Regions from separate parts of the Homo sapiens genome. Here region 2 is linked to region 1. The links are contacts of gene promoters, found by promoter capture Hi-C in human tissues and cell types (Jung and others, 2019). All regions are on one chromosome and are shown on one strand. The core of a region is centred on a gene start or on the middle of the fragment in contact, and the rest is flanking DNA. Distances in the headings are between cores, read along the strand shown. Region 1 holds the start of ARMC5 (armadillo repeat containing 5). Region 2 overlaps FBXL19 (F-box and leucine rich repeat protein 19).

Evidence for each region. Contacts are between HindIII fragments. The study calls those that stand out against the background at their distance.
Region 2: a contact is called between a fragment that was not itself captured here and the fragment with the promoter of ARMC5 in region 1, in 3 of the 25 tissues and cell types used here (dorsolateral prefrontal cortex, lymphoblastoid cells and spleen).

The regions. Positions count from the first base shown.
Region 1 is chr16:31,457,532-31,464,205 of GRCh38, reverse strand. ARMC5 (armadillo repeat containing 5) reads right to left here and starts at 4,705. Exons shown (of 6, transcript NM_001105247.2): 1 at 4,207-4,705; 2 at 2,177-2,284; 3 at 1,289-2,075. The coding sequence starts at 4,681. RefSeq lists a silencer at 4,157-4,506 and enhancers at 4,697-5,036, 5,035-5,575, 6,223-6,674. The HindIII fragment of the contact is 6,359 bases long and covers 4,547-6,674 here.
Region 2 is chr16:30,937,508-30,944,035 of GRCh38, reverse strand. It overlaps FBXL19 (F-box and leucine rich repeat protein 19), which reads right to left. Exons shown (of 11, transcript NM_001382779.1): 8 at 1,757-1,920; 9 at 1,500-1,661. Among named protein-coding and RNA genes, the nearest start is that of ORAI3, 8.3 kb to the left of the region's middle. RefSeq lists an enhancer at 530-1,472 and a silencer at 1,897-2,026. The HindIII fragment of the contact is 5,049 bases long and covers 1-4,934 here.

The DNA of each region.
Region 1 (6,674 bases), core at 3,456-5,955:
TGATCCTCCCACCTCAGCCTCCCAAGTAGCTGGCACTACAGCTGTGTGCACCACACTCAGCTAATTTTTTAAATGTTTTGTAGAGATGGGTCTCGCTATGTTGCCCAGGCTGGTCTCGGACTCCTGTGCTCAAGCGATCCTCCTGCCTTGGCCTCCCAAGGTGCTAGGATTACAGGCGTGAGCCACTGCATGAGCTAAAAGCTGTCTTGGAGGGAGGTAAAGCCAGGGGAGAGAAGGAGGGCGGAGAAAGGGGAGAAACGGAAGTGAGAGGGGGATACGACTAAAACCTCATTCAGTAATTACTGATGCCTGTCACGTGCCAAGCCGTTCTTTAGGTGCTGGGTAGAAGCACTGAACAAAGTGCCTGTCCCCCTGGAGTTTATGTTCCAGTGAGAAGAAGCAGACAAGAAGTAAGAGTACCATGAGTTATGTTAGTGTGGGGCTAGTGTAGAGTACAGGGGTCATGGAGAAAATAAAAAGGAAATAGGAAGCGCTGGGGGCTGGGCATGGTGGCTCACATCTGTAATCCCTACACTTTGGGAGGCTGAGCCAGGAGGGTCACTGGAAGCCAAGAGTTCAAGACCAGCCTGGGCAACAAAGCGAGATCCCCAACGCTAATGTTTAAAAAAAAATAAAGAGTTCCTCAGCTTTCCTGTGATGCTTCAGCTCATGAGTGATGGTAAGAGAGTAAGAACTTGGACTCCAGAGCCCACCATCTTAACCAGCGTATATCCCACCTCCCAGTGAACTTGTCTGGGGCCCAAAGTTCAAAGGTGCTGGCGTGGAACCAAGGTTAAAAGGTAGATCCAGCCAGTGCAGTGGCTCATGCCTGTAATCCCAGGACTTTAGGAGGCTGAGGCGGGTGGATCACCTGAGGTCAGGAGTTCGAGACCAGGCTGGCCAACATGGTGAAACCTTGTCTCTATTAAAAATACAAAAATTAGCTGGGAGTGGTGGCCGGCACCTGTAATCCCAGCTACTCGGGAGGCTGAGGCAGGAGAACTGCTTGAACCAAGGAGGTAGAGGTTGCAGTGAGTGGAGATGGCACCACTGCATTCCAGCCTAGGTGACAGAGTGAGACTCTGTCTCGAAAAAAAAAAAGGTAGACTCAGGGGAGTGGAGTGTGTTAAATAGGAACTGGCAGGTGGTCGTGTGGGAATCAGGAGTCTGGGTTATAAAAGTCTTATTCAGACAGAATAGGGGTGGAGGTAGTGAAGAGGACCAAGACAGACACAAACCCCACATCACTGCACTGCTCACCCTCCCAAGCCCTGAGGCAGGGACTCACCTGAGGCTCCGGAAGCTTCCACCCTGTGCCCGCTCAGGGGTCCTCTCCTCAGGAAAGTCCCAGGAAGCAGCTTCTCTTCCCTCTTCTTCCTCCTCACCAGCCTCACCACACAGCTGCCCAGCCAGGAGAGGCACAAGTCCCAGAGCCTGCAGCCGGCCCAGGGCCCCAGTGTCATACAGAAACCCCACAAGGGCAGCCACAATACGAGGGTGCCATGCGCTTGCACGAGGGTCCCGCAGCAGGCCCATCAGTAGATCCAAGCCACCAGCATCCCGCAGTCGGGCCCGGTTGATGGCCTCACGACATAGGAGGCACACAGCCCGCACCAGGGGCTGCTGGGAGGTTGGGCTAGCTCCATTAGGATCCCGGCGCTGCCGGAGCTCATCTACCAGCACCTCCACGCCACCAGCATTGCCCAGTGCAGGCCGAATCAGGCCCTGGGCACACAGGTTGGCGAGGATCAGAATGGTTCCCTCGCGTACTGCCCGCTTGGGGTGGGAAGCCAGGCTGACGAGTGGGCCCAATCCCCCACCCAGACTTAGCTGCTCAGCACAGGCCCGGGAGCAGCCTCGGCTGAGTTCCAGGAGGGCACGGACGAGGGCTAAGGTCAGTGCAGCATCTGGGGCAGTGGCCAGGAGCTCGGCCAGCGGACGCACTGCTCCCTGCTGTGCCAAGGCCAGGCGGTGCTGGGGTGAGTCTGCCAGGTTACGGAGGGCACGCACCACGCTCTGTAGGCACTGCGAGTCCTGGCAGGCTGTCAGGCTCTCCACAAGCAGGGGAACAGCACCTGAGGGCAGGAAAGGGGAGCACAGAGGGTGAACAAGGACAGACACTCAAGCCTTTCTTCTGCCCCAAGCCCTAGCAGACCCCAACCTCACAGCCTCTTACCAGCACAGTGGATGTCCCCACAGCTCTCAGGTTCCATGGCTAAGTTCCCCAGGGCACGGGCCGTTCGGTTCTGGATGCTGTCTGTCTTCATGCACTGAAGAATGGTCACTGCAACGACAGTTTGGGCTTGTGAGGGTTCTACCCCTTACTGTCTCTCACATCAATAACCTGGAGAATGTGGCCTGAGAGGGCCTGGAAGGCTTTCAGAAGAGGCTAATGGTCGGCAGGGCACCGTGGCTCAAGCCTGTAATCCTAGCACTTTGGGGGACCAAGGTGGGTGGGTCACTTGAGGTCAGGAGTTCAAGACCAGCCTGGCCAACGGGGCCAAACCCCATCTCTACTAAAAATACAAAAATTATCTGGGCATGGTGGTACACGCCTGTAATCCCAGCTACCCGGGAGGCTGTGGCAGGAGAATTGCTTGAACCCAGGAGGCAGAGGTTGCAGTAAGCTGAGATCGTGTCACTGCACTCCAGCCTGGATGACAGAGCAAGACTCCATCTCAAAAAAATAAAAAGAAAGAGGCTAACACTCGGGCTGGGTCTGGAGGGGTACACAGGAAGGTATTTGCCAGAAGCACGGTGGATGGGGGTGTGAGAAGGCATTTCAGGTTTGGAAGCAGCCTTTCCAAAGGCCCAGAGGTAAGATACAGTGTCTGTGAAAGGCTTCAAATGTCAGGCCAAGGGGTCAGGACTTGAATGTGAAGGCACTGGGGGCCACACAAGGGTTTTATGAAGGGGAGTGACACGATACAATCTGACATCCATAGGGAGAATGCATTATGGGGAAAGAATAGGAAGGGGGGAGTCAAAAGGCTGTCATAATAGTCCAAGCATGAAAAGACAATAGCTTGAACCAACCCAGCTACTGGCATCACACAGCACAGAGATACCAGTCTCTGGGCACACAATGGAAGTAGGAAGAGAGAGAAGCAGATAAATTCAGAAGATATTTAAGATGAAAAATAGTAGCTGAATGATGGGGGTTATTTAATAACCAAAGCTCTTGTCAAACATATATGGTCCAGATACATTTTATGTAAATTTTAAATATATTAATGCTTCCCTTTATCCGAAAAGTTAAGATGTCATCAAAACTAGCATAATTTCGTGGAAGGCAGGTAGTGACATGTAAACTGCTTTCACACATTGCCACTAGGAGGCACCAATTTAGCTGGTAAACAGAAAAGCTTATGTTTTGCTAGGATTTGTTCTTACTGTGCTGGTTTTAATTATTTTTATTTATTTTTTCCTGCTTCCTAAGCGACTACTGATTTGTTTGGTTTTCTAAGATACGAGGTCTTGTTACGTTGCCCAGGCTGGAATGCAGTGGCTATTCACAGGCAGTCATTGTTCACTGCAGCCTCAACCTCCTAGGCTCAAGGGATCCTCCCGCCTCAGCCTCCCAAATAGCTGGAACTACAGGCGCGTACCACTGCACCCAGCTTATGCTAGTTTTTAATAACTTGAAATACGTATCATGCTTAGAATATTTGCATATTCGTGCCATATTTGTACTTCGTTTTCTCCCCACTCTGATTTTTTTAGGTAGCTATTATTGCCCCATTTTACAAGGAATCCTAGCCTCGGAGGGGTTAGGTGACTTTTGCAGATCTCCCTTTCTGAACCACTACACCTTCCAGCTCATCAGTGGGGCTTCAGAACCTTGCACAGGGCCGGACACATAGTTGGGCACTGAATGTCTGCTATGAACATCATAACTGGACGGTAAGAATCATCTGAAAAAATCACCAAATAACTCTTTGGCCTCCGCTAGTCCAGCTTCGAAAGAAGTCCTCAACAACCAATTCCTAGATAATGGCTACAATTATCTGGTCTGGGAGGGCTCTCTCTCATCTATAGAGAGTGCAGTGACGTCACGGGGCACAACAGATTGAGAAACAGGAGCGATGCGCCATCACAAAGCACGTTATTCCGGGATAGGACACAAAGAACTCCAGACTGCCCGGGTCTAGAGAGCAAGGGAGTTGCAAACCTAATCTTTCTAGGAAACGGGGGCGGAGCACTTACCCAAAGGGAGTATGCCTCCGAGTCTGCGCACTTCGGTCCGGCACGCCCCTTCCGTACAGCAATCGGCTAGGATGCTGAGCGCCAAGTCCAGCGTCTTGCGCAGGCGCACTGGCGGCGTAGGACTAGACGACGACACAGCGGAGGGGGCGGGGCCCGACGCGGGGGCGGGGCTAGAAGCTCCCGACGCGGCCGACGAGGGGGCGGAGCCGGGGCCTGCCTGGGACGGGGCGGAACCCGCTGCAGCCGCTCGCCGTAGCAGCGCGAGTAGGGGGCGGAGCCCGCCGCGTGCCCGGAAGCGCTCGATTCCCCCCGCTGCCTTGATGTGGCGCGTGCGGAGGGCTAGGAGCGCGCGGCTCAGGGGTGTCTCGTTGGTCGCTGGGTCCTTTTCCCCACCCAGAGCCTCCCCGGCCGCCGCCGCGAGCTGCGCGAGGCAGAACGAGAGCGAGTCCGTGAGGGTTGGCTTCGCAGCCGCCATCTTGGCTCGGGCCTCAGACTCCGCCCCGCTTCTCGCCGCTGATCCCAGGGAGCGGAACTGGAAGACAGGGAAATCGTCGGGCACCGCCTCGCTGACGCTGTTTAGCGCCACCGCAGTGATGCAAGTCGGAAGTTGTAGTTCTCGACCCCGGAAGTCTGTCCTTGCACACGAGGCGCGGCAGTACCTTAATCGCAGCGCATCCTGGGACGTGCGGGCGGTGCATGAGGGAGATGTGGTCCGCGTCGAGCTTCTCACGCCTACCTCGGGAAGCGCTGGAAACTCTTCCAGGGCCCTCCAGGTGGGCCAGGGCCTCCGAACAGCCCAGAAGTCCGACCACGGAGCCTTCGTGCCGTGCCCCGCCCCCGGCGTGCACTCGGCGGGGACCGCCTTTTCTCCTCTAGGCTCGCTTCGCTGCCCCCCAGCGGTGGTGCGGCCCGGCCTTGGGACGGACTCCGAGAACCCCGAGCCGGGCCGAAAGTGCGGGGTCCTGACCGCGCCGCAGACGGGGAGCCCTCGCTCGGTCAGAGGAAGAAGAGGGTTAAACCTACCGAGAACGTTCGCTGCCGCTTCCTAGAGTGACGGGCTTGTGGAATTTTCCGTTTCCGGAGCTGGACCCCGGTGTCCCGAGTGTCCTCCGCTCTGGACGTGCTCGTGAGCTCAGGAGCTGGCATCTAGGAAACGGGGAGTTCTTCACTCGCAGCGCAGTCGGCCGCGCCAGAAGAGGCGAGGGAGAATCCGGACGGGGCGGGGCGGCGGGGGAGCGGGACATTCGCGTCCCGGGGAGCCCCCAGGTCACCCCTGGATTGCGAGGTGGCTCCGCCTGAGCAGCCCTTCCTGGTGTGGTCGGGGCAGCTGCCCGCCCGGAAAATGGTCAGGCTCTAGCCCTGGGGAGGAAGAAGCCTTTGCCAAGAGCAACCGTCTACAAGCCCCAAAACCTGCGAGTGCCGGAAATGTGGACTGACCACAGCCTGCCTCCCCGGCTTCATTCACCACCAAGGCAGCCCCTCTGGTGACAAGCCTTACCGTTGTCCGGGTTATGGCAGAAGCTTCCGATGTGGCTCTGATCTGGTTAAGCACCACTGGGTACACACCGGTGAAAAGCCGTACTCCTGCCCCGAGTGTGACCATCGCTTCGGCCCTATGCCTGTGCCTAGTGTGGTAAGACTTTCAGCGTCAGCTCCAACCTGATCCAGCACCAGCGCGCTCACACCGCTAAAAGCCTTACCGCTGAGGGGACTGCGGCAAGAGTCTCAGCCTTGGCTCCACCCTGTTGCAGCACCTGCGCTCCACATGGGTGAGAAGGCCTCTAAGTGCCTTGTTTGTAGTAAGAGTTTTGTGCACAGTTGGAATCTGCTGCGGCACCAGCACAGTCACAAAGTCCGGAAACCTGATGCTTGGTGGTGAGTGTGGCCAGACCTTCGGCCACAGCTCCCACCTGCCCATCCACTAGGCGGCCCACAGCAGCACCCCTGCGTCTGCCTGCAGTGTGGCAGGGCCCTAGCGCAAAGCTCCAACCTGGGCCAGCACCAGCGGACGCACTAGGGCGGCAGCCTCTGCAAATAGCCCTGGCTTCAATTTTAGCTGAAACTTCAGCTCTGACTTTGGTTCGGACTTCAAGGAAATGGAAGGAACCAGGATCTCTAAGCAGACCCCCTTCTGCTCCCTTAGGGCTGTTGATTTTAGAGCTAATGATGGGATTCGGTTGGGGCGAGGGGGTCTCCACATCTTTTTGCCCAACCCTTTGCTAAGTCAAGGAACCCCAGTCTGGGCTGGGCATGGTGGCTCATGCCTGTAATCCCAGCACTTTGGGAGGCCAAGGTTAGCGGATCACTGGAGGCCAGGAGTTCGAGACCAGCCTGGCCAACATATTGAAACCCTGTCTCTACTAAAAAAAAAATGCTAGGCGTGTTGGCTCTCGCCTGTAATCCCAGCTACTCGGGAGGCTGAGGCAGGAGACTCACTTGAACCCCGGGAGGCGGAGGCTGCAGTGAGC
Region 2 (6,528 bases), core at 1,161-3,660, 520 kb after region 1:
CTCCAACTCAGTCCAATTCTGGTAAGAGTGGACAATGGCTGAGTGCTCTGGCCTGACTGGGTGACCTGCAGCAGTCAATCCCTCTGGGCCTCCAGTGCCTCATCTAGAATACGGGAAGAATCTTAGTTGCTTCTCTATTCTCCCCTTTCAGGGCTGTTGTGGAGGGGGCATGGTGGGAAGAAGGGAACTATGAAAGAGAGGGGTGAAAGAACTCCAAAAGAAAAGATTCTTTTGGCCAGGTGTGGTGGCTCACGCCTATAATCCCAACACTTTGGAAGGCAGAGGTGGGCAGATCACTTGAGACAAGGAGTTCGAGATCGGCCTGGACAACATGATGAAACCCTGTTTCTATAAGAATTACAGGCCGGGTGCGGTGGCTAACACCTGTAATCCCAGCACTTTGGGAGGCCGAGGCAGGCGGATCATGAGGTCAGGAGATCAAGACCATCCTGGCTAACACAGTGAAACCCCGTCTCTACTAAAAATACAAAAAATTAGCCAGGCGTGGTGGCGGGCGCCTGTAGTCCCAGCTACTTGGGAGGCTGAGGCAGGAGAATGGCGTGAACCCGGGAGGTGGAGCTTGCAGTGATCCGAGATAGCACCACTGCACTCCAGCCTGGGCGACAGAGCAAGACTTCACCTCAAAAAAAAAAAAAAAAAAAAAAAAATTACAAAAAAATTAGCCAGGCGTGGTGGCACACGCCTGTAGGCCCAGCTACTCAGGAGGCTGAGGTGGGGAGGATCACTTGAACCCAGGAGGCATAAGTTGCAGTAAGCCGAGATCTTGCCACTGCACTCCAGTCTGGGTGACAGAGCCAGATGGTCTCAAAAAACAAAAACAAACAAAAGGATTATCTTATTTCAGGGGACTGCAAATCTCCTTTTGAAAATCTTTCCTCAAACTAGACCTCTCCCATCCTGATTGCTCATTCAAGTTATTCATTCAACAGCTATCTATGGAGCAGCCACTGAGAACGTGCTGGGGGACCAGCCAGCGCTTGCCCTCAGGGAGCTGGAGACCCTGGCAGGAGGGCACAGATGTGCATCAAGGCACTCCACAATTGCCCAGTATTATGCTGGCGGGCTGCTCTCAAAGCTGAGAGGGACTCTGAGCTCAATGTGGGGTGGGATCAGGGAGAGCTTCTTGGAGGAAGTGGCATTTATACCCAGGCCTAAAGGATGATGAGATTTAAGTAGATGAAGAGAGATGGCCTCTGCTCCCAGCATCCCCCTCTGCCAATATGGGCCTCCTGCCCCACCAAACTGCTGAGTCTCACACTCCCTGGGAAAACCCTGTTCCTTTCAAGACTCAGTTCAAAGTACACAGCAGGTGGGTGAATGAATGAATAATGCCCAACCAGGGCCTTCCTATTCAAACTCATGTATTCTTTCCTTTCTTCAAATACTTTACCATCCAGCATGAGTCAGAAGAGACCTGAGAGGCCTCCTACCCTACCCTTGCCCAGCCCATTCTCCAGAAAAGCAAACAGAGGTTGCACCTGGTTTGGTGTCTGGTGGAGGCAGCAGCAACTCCCGGAGCTGGGAGTCTTTAACATCCTCGATCCAGCGGAGGTCCAGGAGCCGCAGGGCTGGCAGTGGGGCTGAGCCCAGGGCAGAGACAGAGAGCCAGGAGCAGCCAGAGAGCACCAGCTCCTGCAGGCCTGCGGAGAGGGGGCAGTCAGGAAGCAGGTGCTGTGAGGACTCCATCCCAGGCCTGTCCCTGTCCCCACCCTGTCCTCCGTACCACACACCCTACCTTGTAGTCGGTTCAGAAGCCACATGAGCTGCTTCTTGGAGACACCTGTCCAGCTGAGGTCCAGGGCACGGGGCTGGCGGCGAACCACACCACTGAGCATGGGCGGGGTCAGTGACTTCCGCCGGCTCAGGTCCATTCGAGGCCACAGACGCTTGTCATAGCACCTGGCGGCCATAGGGGGGAGACAGAGACCTCAGCCCTCAGCTCTCAGCAGCCCACAGTTCCCAGGCTCCCCAGCTCCAAGGGTGCACCCCAGCTCTCTTCTGGCCACACAGACAACAGGGTAGCAAGAAGCACCTGACCTCAGCCAAGAGCACTGGGATTGGAACCCAACTCCATCACTAACTGGAAATGAGACCCTGGGCAAGTCTGTTCCTCTCCCTGAGCCTCAGAAGCCTCGTTTATGATTGAAGGCAATAGCCCCCCCACTCTGCCTGCCCACAGGGCAGCTGTCAGGTCACATGGGCTCATCCCAGCTGTGGGCCTCCCAGCATAGAAAGTGTGCTGCCCAACACATACACAAATGCCACGCATGCTGCCTGATGTCATGCCAAGGGGACTGGTGTTATCCAGTCGTCTCCAGCCACCCTTGGGCTTCTTGATTCCTGACTGAGTTCTGGTGCTCATGGGTCCTTGCCTCCTTTACTCATCTCTGCTTCTGATCCACACCTGTCCCATCTTGACAGCCAGCTGCCCGCAGCTGGACTTACAGCCCTAATATCTTCCCTATTACATTACTGTGTTCCTCCAACTACAATGTAAATTCCACAAGGGCAGATTTGCGTTTTCCACTTTTTGAAAAAAAATTTTTTTTGAGACAGGGTCTCACTCTGTAACCCAGGCTGGACTCAGGCTCACCGCAGCCTCAACCTACTGGGCTCAAGCAATCCTCCCACCTCAGCCTCCTGAGTAGCTGGGACCACAGGCACATGTCACCACGCCTGGCTAATTTTTAAACAATTTTTTTGTAGAGACAGGGTCTCACTATGTTGCCTAGGCTGGTCTTGATCTCCTGGCCTCAAGCGATCCTCCTGCCTTGGCCTCCCAAAACACTGGGATTACAGGCATGAGCTACTGCACCCAGCTGCCCATTTGTAATGAATGAATCAAGCTAGTAACTACTTAAAGCTTCCACTGACCACTCTCCCCCACCTCCTCATCTACAGCATTTCATTTATTCACTCTGATTATAGAAAGCGTTATAGGTCCCAAGTATTGAAGCTACAAAGATGAACGAGTCCTAAGCAACATTAAACAGGTTTCCTAACCCGAGCACTCCACAGGCCTCAACAGACTATCTAACATGCAGTGGGCTGGGTGCAGTGGCTCACACCTGTAATCCCAGCACTTTGGGAGGCCGAGGTGGGTGGATCATGAGGTCAGGAATTCGAGAACAGCCTGGCTGTTCTACTAGTGAAACCCTGTCTCTACTAAAAGTACAAAAAATTAGCTGGGCATGGTGGCGGGCGCCTGTAATCCTAGCTACTCGGGAGGCTGAGGCAGGAGAATTACTTGAACCCGGGAGGCGGAGATTGCAGCGAGCCGAGATCGCACCACTGCACACCAGCTGGGGCAACAGTGAGAGACTCCATCTCAAAAACAAACAAACAAACAAACAAACAAAAAACATGCAGTGAACTGGAGAAGGGCCTCTCAAACGTACTTCCCCAGGAATCCTTCCCCACCTCTCCCAAGGTAATCTAGTAACATTTTGTAGTACACTGAAGTTCCTTTGGACTCAGTTTGAGAACTCTCTTCTCTGAGTTCAGTAGTTCTCAAAGGCATGTCCAGAAATGCCTCTGAGACTCAATAGACTGTGTCAGAAGCAGCAGGCCCAGGAAGCTTTTTTTTTTTTTTCTTGAGACAGTGTCTTGCTTAGTCACCCAGGCTGGGGTGCAGTACTGCGATCACAGCTCACTGCAACCTTAAACTCCTGGGCTCAAGCCATCCTCCTACCTCAGCCTCCTGAGTAGCTGGGACTACAGGCACATGCCACCACACCTGACTTTTTTTTTTTTTTTGAGACAGAGTTTCGCTCTTGTTGCCCAGGCTGGAGTGCAATGGTGTGATCTTGGCTCACTGAAACCACCATCTCCCAAGTTCAAGCGATTCTCCCGCCTCAGCCTCCAGAGTAGCTGGGATTACAGGCATGCGCCACCACGCCCGGCTAATTTTTTGTATTTTTAGTAGAGATAGGGTTTCTCCATGTTGGCCAGGCTGGTCTCGAAATCCTGACCTCAGGTGATCTGCCCACTTTGGCCTCCCATAGTGCTGGGATTACAGGCGTGAGCCACTGTGCCTGGCCTATTTTTTTATTTTTAGTAGAGACAAGGTTGTCCAGGCTGGTTTTGAACTCCTGAGCTCAAGCGATCCTTCCCTTGGCCTCCCAAGGGAAGCTTTCTCTTGCCTCCCTCCCTGCCCTCATGACTCTGAAAGGCTTTTCCTTGTAGAAGCCCTGGGCTGGGGCAGTGATTCCCAAGCTCCAGTATTTGCTGTTCACTTATCTGCGTAACATGATTTATCTTTGAATCATCTCCTCTTTGCACTTAAAACCAGTATTGTTGCCGGGCGCGGTGGCTCATGCGTGTAATCCCAGCACTTTGGGAGGCCGAGGTGGGTGGATCACTAGGTCAGGAGATCAAGACCATCCAGGCTAACACAGTGAAACCCCGTCTCTACTAAAAAAAAAATACAAAAAATTAGCTGGGCGTGGTGGAGGGCGCCTGTAGTCCCAGATACTCGGGAGGCTGAGGCAGGAGAATGGCGTGAATCTGGGAGGTGGAGCTTGCAGTGAGCCGAGATCGTGCCACTGCACTCCAGCCTGGGCGACAGAGCGAGACTCCGTCTCAAAAAAAAAACAAAAAAAAAAACCCCAGTATTGTTTCACATAAATATGTTAATCTTAAAAATAAACACAAAAGTCCAAGTGTGGTGTAATCCCAGCACTTTGGGAGGCCAAGGTGGACAGATCACGAGGTCAGGAGATTGAGACCATCCTGGCTAACACGGTGAAACCCCATCTCTACTAAAAATACAAAAAATTAGCCGGGCGTGGTGGCGGGCACCTGTAGTCCCAGCTACTTGGGAGGCTAAGGCAGGAGAATGGCATGAACCTGGGAGGCGGAGCTTGCAGTAAGCCGAGATTGCGCCACTGCACTCCAGCCTGGGTGACAGAGCGAGACTCTGTCTCAAAAATAAATAAATAAATAAATAAAACACAAAAAAGACCAGAGTTATTAAATCCTAGCCAGGTGTTGCTGTGGCTTTAGGCTACTACCTGAAGACTACTTTTGTTAAACAGGGAGATAAGTATCAGAGAAGTGTTAGAAAAAGCACCCAATAGTGGCCAGGCGCAGTGGCTCACGCCTGTAATCCCAGCACTTTGGGAGGCCGAGGCAGGCGGATCACGAGATCAGGAGATGGAGACCATCCTGGCTAATACGGTGAAACCTCGTATCTGCTAAAAATACAAAAGATTAGCCGGGCGTGGTGGCAGGCGCCTGTAGTCCCAGCTACTCAGGAGGCTGAGGCAGGAGAATGGCGTGAACCCAGGAGGCGGAGCTGGCAGTGAGCCGAGACTGCACCACTGCACTCCAGCCTGGGCGACAGAGCAAGACTCCATCTCAAAAAAGAAAAAAAGCACCCGATGGAGAGACTTCCTTCCAATGGAAAGACTTCCTTTCCAAAACTCACAGAGGGATTAAGCCATATTTTTGTGTCACTGAAAAATGCCAGACCTACTCCAGAGGCCCAGTGTGTCATTTCATTATTTTTTTCAGACAAAGTCTCACTGTCGCCCAGGCTAGAGCTCAGTGATGCAATCATAGCTCACTGCAGCCTCAAACTCCTGGGCTCAAGTGATCCCCTTGCCTCAGCCTCCCATGTGGCTGGGACCACAGGTATGCTTAGCTAATTTTTTCTTTTTTAATAGAGATGGGGGTCTCACTATGTTGCCCAAGCTTGTCTTGAACCCCTGGGCTCAAGCAATTCTCCTGCCTCAGCCTCCCAAAGTGCTGGGATTACAGGCGTGAGCCACTGGGCCCAGCCCTGGTGTGACGTTTTAGAGAAGGCTGAGGGCACAGACACCAAGGCTTCAGTCCGAACACCTTCACCCCTCTGCCACTCGCTCTCCTGTTCCCTCCTACCCTCATCCTGCTTTTCTGGCATTCTAGCCTCTCCCTCTCCTGATTCCTTCCTCTCAACTAATAAACATCTGCAAATCTCTCCAATTCAAAACATGAAAAGGAAAAAAACCAACTCATGCCCGACCCAGCTTCTACCCCTAGGTCCTGCCCCTTTGCTCTTTCTGTGAGCAAGAAAATCGGTGACATCTGCTCTATCCAAAACCTCTCTCTGCCCACTGTGACCCTGCCACGACTGCCTCCCAGCTTAACTGTCACCACTTCCTTGAAGCCACTTCCCTTCCACGGTCCACAGCTGGAAGGAAGCCCCTTTCCCTGGGGGCACCCACAGGACCCCAGTTGTGTTTCTGTATCATACTCCACAACAGCCAGGCCACACACCTGCCCACCTATAGACACAGTGCTGTCTGATGCCAACACGTTGTGGCACATGCTGTGCCTCTGCCAGAAATGCCAACCCAGAGCCTTCGTGGCTCGGCTCCAGTGCCTCCTCTTCCAGGAAGTCTCCCACACCTTCCTTGGCTACAGCTCATCAGTCCCCCTGCTCTTGTACAACCAGGACACTGGGGTTAAACCTCAGAGGGACAACCAACAGTCACTGAGGGCCCTACTGATCCCAAGTATCTGGCT